Linked DNA regions of Homo sapiens: region 2 is linked to region 1. The links are contacts of gene promoters, found by promoter capture Hi-C in blood cells and fetal thymus (Javierre and others, 2016). All regions are on one chromosome and are shown on one strand. The core of a region is centred on a gene start or on the middle of the fragment in contact, and the rest is flanking DNA. Distances in the headings are between cores, read along the strand shown.

What was found. The method cuts DNA at HindIII sites, captures the fragments that hold promoters and counts their contacts. A CHiCAGO score of 5 or more calls a contact.
Region 2: a contact is called between a fragment that was not itself captured here and the fragment with the promoter of IL36A in region 1, in 1 of 17 cell types (M2 macrophages). The highest score is 5.2, in M2 macrophages.

The regions. Positions count from the first base shown.
Region 1 is chr2:113,003,969-113,007,261 of GRCh38, forward strand. It overlaps IL36A (interleukin 36 alpha), which reads left to right and starts at 1,491. Exons shown (of 4, transcript NM_014440.3): 1 at 1,491-1,913; 2 at 2,006-2,119; 3 at 2,630-2,769. The coding sequence starts at 1,904. The HindIII fragment of the contact is 6,987 bases long and covers 1-3,293 here.
Region 2 is chr2:112,604,182-112,607,474 of GRCh38, forward strand. All of the region lies in intron 1 of LOC124907869 (a long non-coding RNA gene), which reads left to right. Among named protein-coding and RNA genes, the nearest start is that of CHCHD5, 21 kb to the left of the region's middle. The HindIII fragment of the contact is 946 bases long and covers 1,017-1,962 here.

The DNA of each region.
Region 1 (3,293 bases), core at 241-2,740:
GCACAAAAAGATTAGTTTTTTCCTTGCAAAGTGATGTGGATGGTCTGCTGCTGCAGGTGCTATTTTCAATATTGTCTCACTTCTTAAAATGAGTTATCCATTGTAAACTGCTGATTTCTTTGGGTCATTGTCCCCACAAACTTTTTATAAGCCATCAATGATTTCACCATTCTTCCACCCAAGTTTCACCATAAATTTGATTTTTGTTCTTGCTTCAATTTTAGAAGAATTCATGTTGATCTTATAGGGGCTCTTTTCAAACTGATGTCTTACCTTTCTTAGTGCCTCAAACTAGATCCTGTTCAAACACCTTATAACAAGTTAGTAGGAGTTTATTTTGGTGCAAAATAATTCAAAATCCATGCATAGTTTTTTTCATAATATGCATTTTCCATGAACTTTTTGATGACCTCTTGTATGAAAGGGGATTTATTAGGGGAATGAACTCATGCAATTTTGGAGGCTGAGAAATCCCATGACAGACCACCTGCAAGCTGGAGACCCTGGGATGCAGGTAACATGCTCAGTTCAAGTCCTAAAGCCTCAGAACTAGGAAGCCACTGGTGTAATTCTCACTTTGGGATAGAAAGCCTGAGAACCCAGGGAGATGCTGATATTAAGTCCTGGAGTCCAAAGTCTGGAGTTATAATGTCCAAAGGCAGGAGAGAATGCCCCAGCTCCAGGAGAGACAGAAAATCACCTTTTCTCTGTCTTTTCCATGCCATCCATGCCCCCGGCCAGTTGGATGGATCCCACCTACGTTGAGGGTAGATGTTCCCCACTAGTACACTGACTTACACACCAATCTTCTTTGGAAACACCCTCATAGACTTACCCCAAACTAATGTATTACCAGTTCTTTAAGTATTCCTTAAACCAGTCAAATTGACACTTAAAATTTACTATCACGCTACCTATACTAGAGATAGTGATCTAGAGTCCATTGAGGTGGCTAGAGTGCTCAGGAGCTGGCTTTGCTACAGTAATACTCCCTTCTTCCATGGAGAAGCAGCATGCACAGTGGCTCTGAGAAGCTGGAGGAGGGTCACTGGAGTGAGTGGGCTTCTGGTCTGAAATTGACCAAGAATATAGTTCCTGTGGACCAGGAGTGATTAGAAGCTACAGAGGTCTTAAGAGACCTATCCCTCCTCAGTCTACCTTGCACTTACTGAGGGCTCCCACTCTTAGGAATAATTCCATCGTTTCATTTTGTGGCATCAGAGATGAGTCATTGACCCGGAAGAAGTCCCGTAATGTTTCTCAACTCAGTATCTGTGACTATATTTCCTGCTCTTAAAAGTTTAGCATGCCCTCATGTTTCAGGTTGCTTGGAGAAGTCTTAACCATGCTGTTCACATAAAGAGTCACTAAATCCTCTGGCATCAGGAACTAGAAAATATCCTGAGTGTTGGGCAGTGCCAGACTTAGTGAGGCAGAACTTCCTTCCTTGCCCATGTGGATAAAAGGCCTGGGCCCTGTTACAGCCTGTCAGAAAACCCAAGTGCAGTAGAAGCCATTGTTCATAATGGTAGGGATACAGGGTCCTTCGTAACAGATTATCAGTGTGGCCTATGCTGGAAAGTCTGGTGACCTCTGATTTTTTTTGCTTCCAGGTCTTTGGCCTTGGCACTCTTTGTCATATTAGAGTTCCTGGGTCTAGGCCTGGGCAGGATTCATAGGTGCAGCTGCTTCTGCTGGAGGTAGACTGCATCCAACAAAGTAAGGGTGCTGGGTGAGTTCTGGGAGTATAGATTCTGACTGGGGTCACTGCTGGGCTGGCCGCCAGTCTTTCATCTGACCCAGGGTTAAACTGTGGCTTGGGACTGACTCAGGTCCTCTCTTGGGGTCGGTCTGCACATAAAAGGACTCCTATCCTTGGCAGTTCTGAAACAACACCACCACAATGGAAAAAGGTAAAGATCCTCGTGGAAGGGCGAAAAATTGACAAGGGGGTGATATTCTGTGCTCTCATTCTTACTAATTTACATTTTGACTTTCTCAACAGCATTGAAAATTGACACACCTCAGCAGGGGAGCATTCAGGATATCAATCATCGGGTGTGGGTTCTTCAGGACCAGACGCTCATAGCAGTCCCGAGGAAGGACCGTATGTCTCCAGGTGAGTAGCCACGGTCTGTGAAAGGCAGCTCCTTTGGCCAGTGCTGTTGTGTGTTTGGTGCTCAGATGTTATTCCACAGTGGGCTTGTTAACCGGGCATATCTACAGAGAGGAGCATCTCACAGACAATAATGAATAGAGGGTGAGCATAAGGTTGTTCTGGGACTATGGTCATGAAGTCAGAGAAGAGAGAGAAGGCTTAAGGGAGACTGAAGGGTCAGCCTATGAAAAACAGTGGAAGACGTATTCTGAGAAACTTCAAGGAGTAAGAGTAGGACAAAAGAGGGTAATCTATGGGAGGACCAGTTTTTGAATCCATGAAAGACTGACTTTTCTAATGGAAAGTGTTCCCCAAACATAGGATGGGTGTCCCGGTTAGGTGGTGGGTGGTGAGGTGACCATTCTATGAGTGCACTGTGAGTGTCAGTTAGCAGATTCCCTTAAAACTCTGGCTCAGAGGTACCACCCTGGAAATGGCAGCTGAACACCACTTTTCACATCGTGTTCCCAGTCACTATTGCCTTAATCTCATGCCGACATGTGGAGACCCTTGAGAAAGACAGAGGGAACCCCATCTACCTGGGCCTGAATGGACTCAATCTCTGCCTGATGTGTGCTAAAGTCGGGGACCAGCCCACACTGCAGCTGAAGGTGAGTGTGGAAGACAGGTCCTGCCATTTATTTGATGGAAACTCAGATTTCAGGATCTTTTAAAAGACAATGTACTTATTATGCTCATGCATTTTTATTTTTGGTTTCCTTGGGGTTGGTATATGTTATGAAAGACTAAGAAAAATTGCAGGGACATTTTGAAACAAACCTACTAAAATGACTTATTATTTTAATTTACAAAAATATTAATAATTTGGCAAGGATGATGTCTAACTTCAATAGAACACACACACAGAGTAAAATCAGCAAGGACATTTTAGCAGTTAATTATCACAAAGTAGACGAACTTATTAAAACATCTTTTTGGCAAAAAATACATTGCAACTTTAAATGAACAAACATAATTCTCTGTAATAAACACTTCAATAATCGCAATTTTCCATTATTAAAAAAAGATAATTATAGCAGGCCTCTGTGTACTACAGGAACTCTCTTGACCCTTTTCAGTAAACAAGCATAAGCAGACACTCAACTTGATGACAAGATATAAAACAGTGTTTTTC
Region 2 (3,293 bases), core at 240-2,739, 400 kb before region 1:
AGCTGAATAGTGTATTTGGCCATCCACTTTGTATAGAGGGAGAAGAGGCCTGAAGTAGGTATGAGTATGGACTCCTGAGCTGTGGCAAATGGCTTGGCTAGTTGGTCAGGGACCTGGAAGGACCAAGTTAGGCAAAAGGGAGACAAGGAGATTTTGTATTTTTAGTAGAGATGCAGTTTCGCCATGTTGGCCAGGCTGGTCTCGAACTCCTAACCTCAGGTGATCCGCCCACCTCGGCCTCCCAAACTGCTGGGATTACAGTCGTGAGCCACCATGCCTGGCCTAGTAATTAACTTTACATATTTTGACATTCATAATTAACATGTATAAAATCAAGAAATAGCTCTACTGTCCTTCAACTATATAAGGATATTTGATTACATTAACCTCACATCCTCTCCCCCTTACATGCTGTGTTTCTCTTGCTCTTTTGGGCCCAGAAGACATTCTTACAGGGTACTGTACCATCAGTGTTCTTTGTTCTTTCCTGCGTCTCTGATCTTCCTGGATTACTCTTCTGCATAAGCACATCCTTCAGAATTTATGGCAGCTCTTTTTGGAGCAAACCCTCTATATCGTTAGCCCAAAAATGTCTTTATTTTACTGTCATTCTTGAAATATATTTTTGTTGAATATATAATTCCAAGTGAACAGCCTGTGTAGAAAAAAGTTAACACAGCAGGCCTGAGCCTGCTATTCTCGGAAAAGTCGGCTTGCAAGGTTGGCCCTTGGCTGGCATCTAGTCAGTTGGATTTCCATCATTCTCTCATCGGAGTGTCTCACTGTATCTAAAGTGTTCAGCTTATGCTGAACACCTCTTTTCCTTCTGAGAGTCTAGAATTTTGGTACATGCCAGACAGTGGACGCCAATGTAAGTACCTTCCCTGCATTAAAACCTTACACACTGAGTCTCTAATGAGCCTCCCTGGTAGACAATGTTTCACATGTGTTGTCATAACCTGTTGCTGGAGGAATTACGTGCATCCTGTGGATTCCATTGGGAAAGGACTCTTGGAAGCTTGTGTTGCACCCAGTAGGAACTTGGCCTGGCCTGGCACCCCATGTATTACCTGGCCCCTTTAATGATGATGTTTGAGTCTCTGATTTTCAGTGTTAACTTGGATCCTGTGTCCAATAGTTCCTGAAAGGTCGATTATTCCCTTTTCCCCAGTGTACATTTACCTGAGTACATGCCCTCAGGTCTTTCTGGAGAAGGATTGGAGGGAATCATTACCACATACATTTGCCGTGATGTAGGATCCTCCCTTATGTGGGCTGGCATCCCATTCAGTCAAGGGGTACTGGCTCAGGTCTAGAAACTGATCAAAGGATCATAGTTTTTTATTGAGATGTGTCTTGAGCCTTGATCATTTCTGATTCCCTCTGATTGCATAAATTAAGCTGTATTTTGCCCTTAGGAAAATTATGTCCTATTATCATTTCTATAATACTCTCTCTCTTTTTTTTTGAGACAGAATCTCATTCTGTTACCCAGGCTAGAGTGCAATAGCACCATCTCGGCTCATTGCAACCTCTGCCTCCTGGGTTCAAGCGATTCTCCTGCCTCAGCCTCCTGAGTAGTAGGGATTATAGGCACCCACCACCACGCCTGGCTAATTTTTTGTATTTTTAGTGGAGACTGGGGTGTTTCACCATGTTGGCCAGGCTGGTCTTGAACTCCTGACCTCAGGTGATCCACCCACCTAGGCCTCCCAAAGTGCTGGGATTACAGGCGTAAGCCACAGCGCCTGGCCCATCTCTATAATTCTCTATGGGAACAGACTCCCCTGCCTGTCATACATTACATCTGTTCTTGCCATGTATTACAGCAATCTCACCCAGCATTCTTCTGGCAGTGAAGTGTTGTCACCTGGCCTCTATTATTTCAGGACTCATCCTCATTAGTATTGGGAACATAGCTCTGTAACATCATCTCCCACGATCAGCCCACAGTCACCACCAAGCTTCTTGCTGATGCTGGTGGCCCCATTGAACAGCACATTCCTCCTCGTTTGGATAAACAGAAGGTGCCCACGGCTCCCCTGTGGACTGCGGTGACCTGGTGGGTTTTCTTTCCTCAGTAGCATATCCACTCCAGCATGCCTGCTTCTCTGAGCCACCTCATTCCTGTATCCACTATTGCACGGCATTTCTGGCAGTTCTGCTTTCCTGGGGGATATTGCTTTTTCCAGGCTTCCATGAGACCATTGAGTGGAGTGTTAGTACTATCTTCACCTCCTTGCTGGGGTGTGAATCCCATACCCCACAGCAGCACTCTCGCATCAATAAACTTCCCTTTATCCAACTTTGTCCCACTTGATGCAGCATGAGGAGAGCCAGCCCCGTGTGTCTCCCCAGCACCTACTGGACATTTGGCCACGTCCTGTGGTTCCTTCATGTATCATTCTTTCCTCCCTTAGTAGACCGAGTATCTTCCTGTCAGATGGCCAAGCAGCAGCCCCTAAGCAGCAGCCCCTAAGCAGCAGCCTGGGGGAGCCACAGCTGCTATGTATCAAGCACAAGGCAAGGCCTGGCTGACATGCATGGTCAGGAAAGCAACAAGGAGCCATTTTTTAGATCAGGCAGTTTATATTACTCATACAGATGGTGAAAGCGCAAGTAGACAGAGGTGCCAGGTCCCTGTGACCCTTGCACAGGGCGGCACCAAAACAACAGGGGCCAAATGGCAGCAACATGAGTGCCAGGTGAAGCCCATACCACACTGCAGCCAAGCAGCTTTATAGCTGGTAGCTATGCACATGCTCTCAGGGATGGGAAGGCATAATTCTAGGTGGTCCCCAAATTCCCACTCCCTCATATACATGCCTTGTATCATCGCCTCCCGTCGAGTGTGGGTGCTAATTCTAAGCTACAGACAAGCATTTTCCCCTTCCTTCCTAAGCTACAGCCAAGCCTGCCTGCCTGCCTTCCTTCCTTCCTAAGCTACAGTCAAGCCTGCCTTCCTTCCTCCCCTCCCTCCCTCCTTTCTTTCCCTCCCCTCGCCTCCCCTCCCCTTCTCTCCCCTCCCCTCCCTTCCCTTCCCTTCCTTTCCCTTCCCTTCCCTTCCCTTTCCTCCTTCTCCCTCCCCTCCCCTCCCCTTGCCTCCCCTTCCCTGGCCTCCCCTTCCCTTCTTCTCCCTCCCCTCCCCTCGCCTCGCCTCCCCTCACCTAACCTCTCCTCCCCTTGCCTCCCCTCCCCTCCCTTTGCCTTCTCTTGCCTTCCCTTCCCTTCCTCTTTCTTTTGACAGAGTCTTGCTCTGTTGCCCAGGCTGGAGTGCGGTGGTGTGATCTCAT